Regions from separate parts of the Homo sapiens genome. Here regions 1, 2 and 3 are each linked to region 4. The links are contacts of gene promoters, found by promoter capture Hi-C in blood cells and fetal thymus (Javierre and others, 2016). All regions are on one chromosome and are shown on one strand. Each heading gives the region's core, a stretch centred on a gene start or on the middle of the fragment in contact. The rest is flanking DNA. Distances are from core to core; before and after follow the strand shown. Region 1 overlaps SUFU (SUFU negative regulator of hedgehog signaling). Region 2 has its middle 20 kb from the start of ELOVL3. Region 3 has its middle 34 kb from the start of NOLC1. Region 4 holds the start of PSD (pleckstrin and Sec7 domain containing).

What was found. The method cuts DNA at HindIII sites, captures the fragments that hold promoters and counts their contacts. A CHiCAGO score of 5 or more calls a contact.
Region 1: a fragment that was not itself captured here is called in contact with the fragment with the promoter of PSD in region 4 in 2 of 17 cell types (megakaryocytes and M1 macrophages); the score reaches 6.0 in megakaryocytes.
Region 2: a fragment that was not itself captured here is called in contact with the fragment with the promoter of PSD in region 4 in 1 of 17 cell types (endothelial precursors); the score reaches 6.0 in endothelial precursors.
Region 3: a fragment that was not itself captured here is called in contact with the fragment with the promoter of PSD in region 4 in 1 of 17 cell types (endothelial precursors); the score reaches 6.4 in endothelial precursors.

The regions. Positions count from the first base shown.
Region 1 is chr10:102,599,383-102,602,388 of GRCh38, reverse strand. It overlaps SUFU (SUFU negative regulator of hedgehog signaling), which reads right to left. Exons shown (of 12, transcript NM_016169.4): 8 at 2,845-2,956. Among named protein-coding and RNA genes, the nearest start is that of TRIM8-DT, 42 kb to the left of the region's middle. RefSeq lists an enhancer at 1,887-2,637. The HindIII fragment of the contact is 3,650 bases long and covers 1-3,006 here.
Region 2 is chr10:102,204,480-102,207,182 of GRCh38, reverse strand. No RefSeq gene overlaps it. Among named protein-coding and RNA genes, the nearest start is that of ELOVL3, 20 kb to the left of the region's middle. The HindIII fragment of the contact is 4,323 bases long and covers 1-2,703 here.
Region 3 is chr10:102,184,988-102,187,687 of GRCh38, reverse strand. No RefSeq gene overlaps it. Among named protein-coding and RNA genes, the nearest start is that of NOLC1, 34 kb to the right of the region's middle. The HindIII fragment of the contact is 2,363 bases long and covers 139-2,501 here.
Region 4 is chr10:102,417,482-102,420,211 of GRCh38, reverse strand. It overlaps PSD (pleckstrin and Sec7 domain containing), which reads left to right and starts at 1,427. Exons shown (of 17, transcript NM_002779.5): 1 at 1,427-1,511. The HindIII fragment of the contact is 10,611 bases long and covers 1-2,730 here.

The sequences.
Region 1 (3,006 bases), core at 507-3,006, 180 kb before region 4:
GATGAATTCTACCAGTAAAGGTCATTATTTTCTCAGAGACACAGTCTGATGTGTCCCCCATGGGGTCCCTGAGAATGGGGTAAGGAAGATTACATCCATTTTAATGGCTGATAGATGGCTGTAACTAAGCTCTACCCCTTTCCAACCTTGGAAAAGATACTTATTAGCCTCTCTGTACCTCATCCATTAAAGGGGAATATGTAAGATTATCGACCACAGGATGGCTATGAGGATAAGATAAATGAATGGCAGCACATAGTAGCTGGCACATTACCTAGCACAGAATGAGCACTAATAAGGTTTTAGCTGCTGCTGAAGTGTGAAAAGAGCAAGTGCTTGACACCCCCAAGTAGGCCGGCACCCGGCTGCTATTGCCCAGGCTTGATCAGCTGCTCTGAGCCTCTGATTTAGCTCTGTATCTTCCTTAGACCACAGACAAACCCGCGAAGACCCATGCATAAGAGCTCCCTGGCCCAGAAGTCCTGACTAAGGGGAAATCAGACCCGCAGACAAAATATGGCCCACGCTGGCTGCCCCCCAACAGGGAGAGGAGCAAACACTGGTGCCAGCACATTTTGGGTCAGCTTTCTCAGTTGCAATCCATGTGGTGTATGTGAAATGGGGTCAGGTCCCAGAGTGGGCAGCACAGATATTACCGTCACGCTCACTGATCTGAACTGAGTCCATCATCATCGATCCTGAGATAACAGGAAACTTGAGTCTGACAGGCTTGAGGGGTGTGTTGGAGAATGTTCTTGGCAAAGGAGGAGGAGAAACCATTTCTCAACCAATTGCTAACAAATTGGTAACCAATACTGACAGCCTCAGAGGAAACATTCTATTCCCCTCAGACTACAGGTCCTGGTGCTTTAGAGACCTTACTGGGCACTAAACCTTCAGGAAGGGGAGACAACCCCGGCACCTCGAATCTATTCTCACCCATCTCTCTGTATCTCAGCCAACTCAAGCCAAAGGGTAGAAGCTGCAGCCTCTCTGCCTTATGTTTACAGAGAACCCTTGGGCCAGAACCAATACCCGACTGCCCAGTTAGGGTGTAGGCTGAGAGTCTCGGCTTATGTGTATATCTAGGAGCACAGAGCCTTGTGCCCCATTGCAATGTCCAGGGGTGCAGTAGCTGGAAGTGCCCCCAAGCCAGGGAGTGAGATCTCAGGCCTGTTCCAGATACACAAGCGGGGCAAGAAGGTTGTATCTCTGCAGGAGCTTGTGCCCTTCTGCCTAGAAACCCCAGGCTTCCAGAGGCAGAGAGCCATCTGGACTGAGACTGTGTCCATGTTATAGGCCTTCCAGTACCTCTGGCCTGCCAACAGTGCCAAGGAGGCCCAAAGCGAGAAGCCAAGCTCAGGGAATGGGAAGGAGTGTAGACCCGGGACAGGGTCCAGACTCACAGGTAGAGAGCTTCCATATGTCGTATGACCTGGTGTGGCCATCTGCTGCTGCCAGGGGATGATCAGGATGCCTCCAGCCAGCTACTTCAGGGCAGCTGGCTGGAGAAACCTACAGGCCGGAGTTAAAAGCTGCTCTGAGGTGGCGGTGGAGGCTTCTCCAGGCTTTTGCCAAAGAGCTCAACTCTCAGTACAGCCCTGTTCCCAGAGTAACTCTAGTTCCAGTCAGGTCCCAGCAGGCAGCCTCAACTTTAACCAGCCAGGCCTCCCCTGTGCTATCCTCTTGAGTTCCTTCCCCTGCTTATTAAAATTCTAAGGTGCCCTCAAGGTCGATGCTATGTTCTTCCTCCTCCAAGATGCCCTCCCTAACTACCCCAGATCCTGTGGACCTGTCTTTTCTGTAGTGCACTGAAGCATTACTACTTCTGGGAAACACGATCAGCAACTAGAGCTAGAATCCAGAGAAGCAGCCATTTCCAACAAATCACATCGACAGCCAGATGCACACCATTAAAAGGTAACTGTTTCACTCATGTTCTCCCAAAGGAAGAGCCTGTGCACCCCAGATGGCCCCCTAGGTCCGAGCTTGTCAGACAGCAAATGTGTAATAAAGACTTCATAGAAGAAGGCTAGATCACCCTGGTCTTGCAGGATGATCAACCTCCCTTTCAGCCCAAGGCACAGCAATTTCCTCCCTGGCAGGCAAGGTTCCTGCTTTGGGCTGCCAGCCCCCAGGTATCTCCTGCCAGCAGCTATTCCCTAGAGCTGCCCTGGGACTAAGGGCAGAGGGGGGTGCCCAGCTTCAGCCCTGCCTATCACTCATCCCCTCTATCAGAGGAAGAGAGGTTGGCAGGAAGCGGATCTGACCTCTAGGGTGGCCACAGTCTCTCCGGAGGGCTACAGGGGCCCCTGGACAGGCAGCAGAGGCCTGCAAAAGACTTCCTTTCCCTTCCCTGGGCCCCAGGGAAGAGAGGCAGGAAGAAGGGCCTCAGCCACAGGCATCCAGTATGGGGCTGGCCAGAGAGGGAGGCCCCCAGGGTTGCAGCTATCAGCCGGAGACCAGGCTCCAGGAAGGAAGGAAGGGCAACTCTGGCCAAGACTGAGATAAGGAGGGAACCGTGCTCAGCACAATGGGCTCCCACAAGGCTGGGAGGCCCCAAGTCAGATTTCTCCCCAACCTGGCCTCCTGTCTGTTCACACGGCTCATGTAAATATTTACTGATGTTAATATTCACGGTCTGCTGGGTCCCCTCTGAGGCCCTCTCCTATGACCCACAGATAGATCTGTGTGCCCCAGACCATGCCTGCCCTTAAGCCTAGAGATCCTGGGCCCATCCAGCAAGGGCTATGTGCATTGTTCTCTCTCATGCAATCCACAGGGACAGGCCCTTCAGAAAAAAGTCGTCCTCTTGTTCCAGCCCAGGGACACTGGGGAACTTACGGGGCCCGGTCGTGGGCGAGGCCATTCTGCCGCTGAGGGTTGATTGGTGGAAGGACAGGTTTGCTGTTGATCTCGAGTCCTCTCCTCAGGGTCTCCCGGATCTGCTCTGTGTCTGCAACGACACCACTAAGTTGCCCAGTGGCCCAGTGGGCTCCCAGCAAT
Region 2 (2,703 bases), core at 88-2,587, 210 kb after region 4:
GGAGTCTCGCTCTGTCGCCCAGGCTGGAGTGCAGTGGTGCAATCTCGGCTCAGTGCAAGCTCCACCTCCCGGGTTAACGCCATTCTCCTGCCTCAGCCTCCCGAGTAGCTGGGACTACAGGCGCCCGCCACCACGCCTGGCTAATTTTTTGTATTTTTAGTAGAGACGGGGTTTCACCGTGTTAGCCAGGATGGTCTCAATCTCCTGAACTCGTGATCCACCTGCCTTGGCCTCCCAAAGTGCTGGGATTACAGGTGTGAGCCACTGTGCCCGGCTAGTCTTGTTTCTTTACAGCTGCCAAAGTGTCTTTGTTTTGTGTGATGAAAATGTATAACATAAAATTTGCCATTTTAACCATTCTTTTTTTTTTTTTTTTTTTTTTGAGACGGAGCCTAGCACTGTCGCCCAGGCTGGAGTGCAGCGGCACGATCTCGGCGCAATGCAACCTCTGCCTCCCAGGTTCACGCCATTCTCCTGCCTCAGCCTCTCTAGTAGCTGGGACTACAGGCACCCACCACCACGCCTGGCTAACTTTTTTTGTATTTTTAGTAGAGACGGTGTTTCACCATGTTAGCCAGGATGGTCTCGATCTCCTGACCTCGTAATCCACTTGCCTCGGCCTCCCAAAGTGCTGGGACTACAAGCATGAGCCACCATGCCTGGCCCCTTTTAACCATTCTTTTTTTTGTTGTTTTTTTAAATTATATTTTAAGTTTTAGGGTACATGTGCACATTAACCATTCTTAAGTGGCATTAATTACATTCATAATGTACAACCATCACTACTGACTAGTTCCAAAACTTTTTCATCACTCCAAACAGAAATTCTGTACTTGTGAGGCAACAGCTAACCATTGCACCTTCCCTCTGGCTCCTGGTAAGCTCTCATCCACTTTCTGTCTGTATTAATTTGCCTATTCTAGGCATTTCTTTTTTTTTTTTTTTTTTTTTTGAGACGGAGTTTCACTCTTGTTGCCCAGGCTAGAGTGCAATCGCGTGATCTCAGCTCAGTGCAGCCTCCACCTCTGGGTTCAAGTGATTCTCCTGCCTCAGGCTTCCCAAGTAGCTGGGATTACAGGCGCCTGCCACCACACCTGGCTAATTTTTGTATTTTTAGTAGAAACGGGGTTTCACCATGTTGGCCAGGCTGATCTCGAACTCCTGACCTCAGGTGATCCACCCGGCTTGGCCTCCCAAAGTGCTGGGATTACAGGCATGAGCCACCACGCCTGGCCTTTTTTTCTTTTTTTTTTTTGAGACAAGGTCTCACTCTTGTCACCCTGGCTGTAGTGCAGTGGCACACCTCACTGCAGCCTCAACCAGCCAGGCTCAAGCGATCCTCCCACCTCAGCCTCTTGAGTATCTGGGATTACAGGTGTGGACCACCACTAATTTTATTTTATTTTTATTTTTATTTTTTTAGATAGAGTTTCACTCTTGTTGCCCAGGGTGGAGTCAACGGCACGATCTTAGCTCACTGTAACCTCCACCTCCTGGGTTCAAGTGATTCTCCTGCCTCAGCCTCCTGAGTAGCTGAGATTACAGGCATGCACCACCATGCCCAGCTAATTTTTATATTTTTAGTAGAGACAGGGTTTCACCATGTTGATCAGGCTGTTATCAAACTCCTGAGTTCAGGTGATCTGCCTGCCTTGGCCTCCCAAAGTGCTGGGATTACAGATGTAAGCCACTGCATCTGGCCTAAGGTTTGTTAATTTTGTTGAACATTTTTTTTTTTTTTTGAGACAGAGTCCCTCTCTGTCGCCAGGCTGGAGTGCAGTGGCACTATCTTGGCTCACTGCAACCTCCACCTCCCGGGTTCAAGTGATTCTCCTGCCTCACCCTCCCAAGTAGCTGGGACTACAGGCACACACCACCATGCCCAGCTAATTTTTGTATTTTTAGTGGAGATGGGGTTTCACCATATTGGCTAGGATGGTCTCAATCTCTTGACCTCGTGATCCGCCCACCTCAGCCTCCCAAAGTGCTGGGATTACAGGCGTGAGCCATCGAGCCCAGCCTTTTGTTGATCTTTTCAAACAAACAACTTTTGGTTTTTATTGATTCTCTCTATTGTTTTCTCTATTTCTTATTTCATTTATCTCTGCTCTAGTCTTCATTTCTTTCTTTCTGCTACCATTTGTTTTTCTTTTTCTACTTCCTTAGATTGTAAAGTGTGGTTGTAGATTCAACATCTTTCTCCCTTTTTCTTTTTTTTTAAATTTTTTATTGATATATAATATTTGTACATTTTTATGGGGTGCATGTGGTATTTTGTTATATGCATAGCATATGTAATGATCAAGTCAGGGCATTTAGGGTATATGCCATTGTGAAAAAACATTTAAATGGTTCATTTTCAGGGCATGATAAATCTATGTACTAGCAGCCACCCTGCAGATGTGACAAACTGAATGGCTCATGCACCTAGAAAATCATCATAAGAGAACAAGATGTAGAAGAAGGGTCAGCCCATAAAAGGTGAGAAAGTTTCATTATTGGGAAGTTGAAACATAGGCAGGGAAGGGGACCAGAGTATAACCTTATAAGGGGATAATGAAACTTAGGTGACGTCTGGGAAGATTGTAACCCTGTAGTACTCAACCAGTAAGGAACTGGGGGAAAGACTTGCATGCTAGGAGATAAATTACCTGCTGTAACTGCCCCAGGTGTGCCTGCCTACCAGACATCTGATCTTGCAAG
Region 3 (2,700 bases), core at 71-2,570, 230 kb after region 4:
TAAGCCAATTTGGTAGACACAACATATACCAATAAGGGTACATACAAATAAACACATCTAAACATGAATATACACACATAAACAAAGATCCAATAGCTTTTACCTTGGAACTATAGCTATGAGATAGCAATACAAGCTTACTGGTTTTACATGGTTACACTTTGTCCCAGTAGGTAATTCAGTGAAGGCTGTGAATCAAAATTTTGGGTATAGTAGTTTCCATGGCAGTTTGATTTTTAAAGGCCAAACCTCCTCAGACTCCAAAGAACATTGGGGTCAAACAGCAACAAAGGAGAACATCACATACCTGCCAGGCCCAACCTTGCTTAGAACAGCAGCACAAAAGCCTGGATACACACAACTCCATCCCACTTTCCCATTCAGCAGCAAACTCCAGATTCCAAACAGCAAACGCCAGATTCCAAACAACACTGGGGCCAACAGTATTGCAAATGAATATCAGTTTACCGAATTCTAACTTCTCATGACTATATAAAACACACACAAATGATCACCAAAACACAATCCAACTGCTGCAGCAAAAAACAAGCCCCAAGAGTGTCCAAACTCAAACAGTCAGGGTGCTTCCTCTCTTCATTGGTTGGGCTTGATCAAATGCAAACAAAAATTCCTTAGGAAATTTCCCAAATTGAGAGGAACTGATCCCGCTGTCTGGTACACACACGAGGCACTCACTTGCCCAGACACAACATACAATTATAAACTAGCCCCCAAGAGTGTCCACATAAAAACAGTCAGGGTGTTTCCCTCCCTCAGTCAGTTGGGCTTGTTCAACCTGCAAATGAAAATTCTTTTAAAAATTTCCCAAATTGAGAGGAGCAAATCCTGCTGTCTGGGCCCACAAAGGATACTCACCTATCTGGATGCAGATGTCCAATTTCGAAGGCTATTCTTCCAAGGCAATCAGGAGGATGGTTGGGGCTGACCATGGTGGGGCCAGAGAGAAACTGAAACTCACTTCCAGCTGATATTGGTCAATAGATGGGCATGGTGCATGCCTGTAGTCCAGCTACTGGGGAGGCTGAGGCAGGAGAATAACTTGAACCTGGTGAAGTGGCTACATTGTCTGGGGTATATGCCCTCAGGTATATATTTATCATTGTCACAGGCCAGGAAAATTTAGGACACAGACACACACAAGGGGTTTAGGAGCAGAGGTTTAATAGGTAGAAGAGAAAAGAGAAATAGCTTCCTCTATAGAAGAAGAGGTCTCCGAATGGAAAGGACTGGCTGGTAGTGAAGACACCAGTTTGAGGAGGCAGTGTCTGATTTAGTGTGGACTGTTTTAATGTGTCTTGATTTACATAGGGCTCACAGATTGGTTTGATCAGCTATGACGTTTACATAGTGCTCAGGAAAGGCTGGTTGCCCCACCCTAATCTTGTTACGCAAATGGCCTTTCCAGTTGATCGACACCATCTGTTTTTTTTTTCTTTTTCTTTTTTTTTTTTTTTTTTTTTGAGACAGAGTTTTGCTCTCGTTATCCAGGCTGGAGTGCAATGGTGCGATCTCAGCTCGCTGCAACTTCTGACTCCCCGGTTCAAGCAATTCTCCTGCCTCAGCCGCCTGAGCAGCTGGGACTATAGGCGCCCACCACCACGCCCAGCTAATTTTTATATTTTTAGTAGAGGCGAGGTGATCGACACCATCTGGTCTGCTCCTTACAGTACACATGACTGGCAGAGAAGGGAAGATGAAGTCGCTATCTTGAACATGTCTACTCCTTAGTTCCTGCTGGCATTCACCCTTGCAAACTCCCAGGTTTCAGGCTGCTCTTTGTTAGAAAATGATTTGGGGCAGCTTTTCATTAAAAAAGAAAAAGAAAAGCCTTACTGAGGATTCCCGTACCCTGGCTATCTGCCCAAGTGATTTCTTCTGACTCCTATAGCACTGGGAGGCAGAGGTTGCAGTGAGCCAAGATTGTGCCACTGCACTACAGCCTGGGTGACACTGTGAGACTCCATCTCAAAGGAAATAAAATAAAATAATAAAATAAAATAAAATTTGTCAGGCAGCTGCATAAGAGGGCTTCTGAGACTCCACCCATGGCAGCTGAGCCACAAGCAACATGTTCCCAGTCAGGGAACCAAAATATGTTATTGAAACATCAGGGGTTCAGTCTAGGTCCTACAGCTCGCTGCACAGAAAGCCAATGACTGAGATGACAAGTATTGCCAAGGAAGAAGGCTTTAATCGGGTGCTGCAGCTGAGAAGATGGGAGCTCAAAACCTCAAATCCATCTCCCTGATCAACTAAAACAAGGGTTTTATACAGAGGGGAAGAAATGTAATGTGTAAGAAAACAGGAAGTAGGGAGGGCCAAGGAAGTAATCATGATGAATGAGGGGTCCAAAGTCTCATTGTCTGGATGTAGTGATCTGGTGAGTTTCAGTTCATTGATACTTTTTTTTTGCGGGGGAGAAGCCTGAAGGTCATTTACTAATGAAGGAACTCAAATAAAGCAAATATAAGTTTCAAGCTTTAAGACCAGAAAGATAAATTTTTATGTTTATCCAAAACAATAGTCTCTGGAACTATTGGGTTGATTTCATTTGTTTGTTTTTTACCTTTTAAGTTCAGGGGTACATGTGCAGGTTTGTTATATAAGCAAATTTGTACTTGTCACAGCGGTTTGTTGTACAGATTATTTCTTCACCCAAGTATAAAGTCTAGTATTAGT
Region 4 (2,730 bases), core at 178-2,677:
GATGTGAAGGACGCGAGAGCCACTGCACCGCTGACGGTCTGGCGCTCCGGTGCAACCGCTTCAGCTGGCTCATCACAACGAAAACCACTTCTCATCTGTTATCTCGTCAAGGCTTCGGGCACCTCTGAAAGGTGGGCAGGTCTATGCTATCAGTCCATTTTAAAGATGGGGAAACCGAGGCCCTGGAGAGGAAGCCCCTTGTCCAGAATCAAGCCAGACGGGAATAGAGAACCCAGACATCTGGTTTTCCCAGAATTCCTTCCACGTTTCCCCACCCCGCAAGGCAGCGAGAAGGGAGAAGCTAGCAGCGGGGAGAGACAAGAAAGGGGTCAAGTTAGGTGAGGGCTTGCTATCTCTTCTTCCTCAGCCTGCTTAGGGAGGGGGTAGCTGGGAGGACAGACCCCTGCAAAGATAGAGCCACGTGAGCGCGCACCACCTCCGGCCGCGCGCCTCGTCCCCCTCCCCTCTTTGTTCGCGCCTCTGCGCCTGCGCAGTGCGACAAATCTGGCGCTGTCCCCTTCAGCACCACGCGGAGTCCGCGCCGCCCCTCCCCGCGGTGAGCCCCGCGCGCCCCCGCCTCGCACGTCCTCGCGCCCCCTGACTGCCCGAACAGACCCCTTCTTCCTTCCGAGGTCACCATCTGCCCGCCCTGGCCCTCCCAAAGAGAGTAGTTGCCATAGTAACTCCAGCGGCTCTTTCTTAAAATAGCAGGGCCCCCTTCTACCCTGGCCAAGGGCACAAGGGTTGCCGGTCCCCCACGTCTTCCGGTCCCTAGTTCATCCCGTCTAACCTCTTACCCCTGGGCAGGCGTGACGACACCTAACTCAGGCAGCAAGGAAGTTCTTCCTGAAGTCTGATTTAACATCCCCCTGCTGCATCCTGGGAGGGTGGTCAGGGTTGGATCTCCTGGGTCCGAGACTCAAAACCCCTGGCGGGTTCAAGACGGTGTTCCCTAGATCTCCTTTCCATAGTTGATGGTCTCCTGGATTTAGGGGGCGGGTCCAGTCTACACCCATACCGTGTGCTTGGCGCGGCCGCGTGCTCGTGGGGGCGGGAGCGCGTGTGGCATGTAACAGGTCATGTGGCAGCCTCCTAGGGACACGCGTGGGGTCTGGAGCGGGACACGCGTGTGCAGCCGGGCCTTACGTGTGGCTCAAGGGGCGGTGGGCGAGAGAGACGTGGACACAAGTGGGGTGGGGCACGTGAGGGTCTGGGGAATAGAACCAGGGGTTCCATGCGCCCTCCTCCTTGTCTGGGGCGGGTCTTAGGTTGGCGGGAGAGCCCAGCGGGGACCTAGCGACAAGGGGGGCTGGCAGCCTCCGGGGCTCTGGGCCCTGGGAGAGGGCGGGGGGTGGGGGGGATTAGCGTTGCCTGAGCGGCGCGTAGGGGGTAGGGGGAGGGACTGAGAGGCGGGCGGGCCTGGAGCAAACGGGAGCCGCGCTGCCTTCACAGCTCAGCTGGGCCCAGCCTCTCCTCTGTCTCTCCTCGGTCTCAGCTCTGGGCGAGCAGCGGTGAGTACTGAGGTGGCATTGAGTTGGGGCTGCACCGGGTATGCGCTGGGACCCCGTTGAGCTTCCGGAACCTGCCTGGCAGGGTTGCTACTCCTGACCTCTGCCCCTCCCCTGCATTGCCACCAGAGGCCCCTTTACCTGGTTATGGTCTCTCCTGGGCGGGATCTGTCTTACCCCTGGGGAGAGAGGGAGAGGAGAGGAATATGGGTGCAGATTCCCCTCAAGAGACCCCAGTAGGTGGGGGGGAGGGGACGGTGTGTGTCCCTGCTTGAGTGTGTACATCTGTATGTGTACATCTGTATGTGTATGTGACTGTGAGCAGTAGGTCTCTGTGAGTGTCTGATACACCTGGACCTCTGTGTGCACTGGAGAATGACAGCTTGTGTATATATTTGGGTACCTCTTTGTGTGTTCCTGTTTGATGATGGTGTGTGTGTAAAACAAGCATGTGCCTTTTCATTACACACATACTTGTTATGACTGTGAGAGTGCATGAGGGTGTGTCTTTGAGCAGTGTGTGTGTGTGTGTGTCTGTGTGTGTGCCAGAGGGTGTTGCCTATGAATGTGTTTAACTGTGTACTGACATATTTGTCCTTATGTATGTGTGTGCGTGTGTGTGTGTGTGTGTGTGTGTGTGTGTTTGTGTGTGTGTAGGTGCCTGTCTGTACCTGTATGAAGAAAAGAATGTCCCTGGCCGGGTGCGGTGGCTCACGCCTGTAATCCCAACACTTTGGGAGGCCAAAGTGGGTGGATCCCCTGAGGTCAGGAGTTTGAAACTAGCCTGGACAACATGGTGAAACTCCATCTCTACTAAAAATACAAAAATTAGCCAGGCATAGTGCTGAGCGCCTGTAATCCAAGCTATTCAGGAGTCTGAGGCAGGAGAATCACTTGAACTTGGGAGGCGGAGGTTGCAGTGAGCTGAGATAGCGCCATTCCACTCCAGCCTGGGCAGCAGGGGCGAAACTCCATCTCAAAAAAAAAAAAAAAAAAGAAGAATGTCCCTTTCCCACTCAGTATGTATATATTGGGGGTAGGAGCCTCTGCTCAGGCTTTTCTCCCCACTTCCATGCTGTGCCTCTCAGCCCTTCAGCATCCCTATATAACACCTGTTCCTCTTCCCTCTCCTTCCAGGAGGCCTGAGTTTCCCTTCCCTGAGTGAGGGGCCTCCATAAGAGAGACTATAGGGGTCACAGGGCTGTATGATGGTGACAGCTGG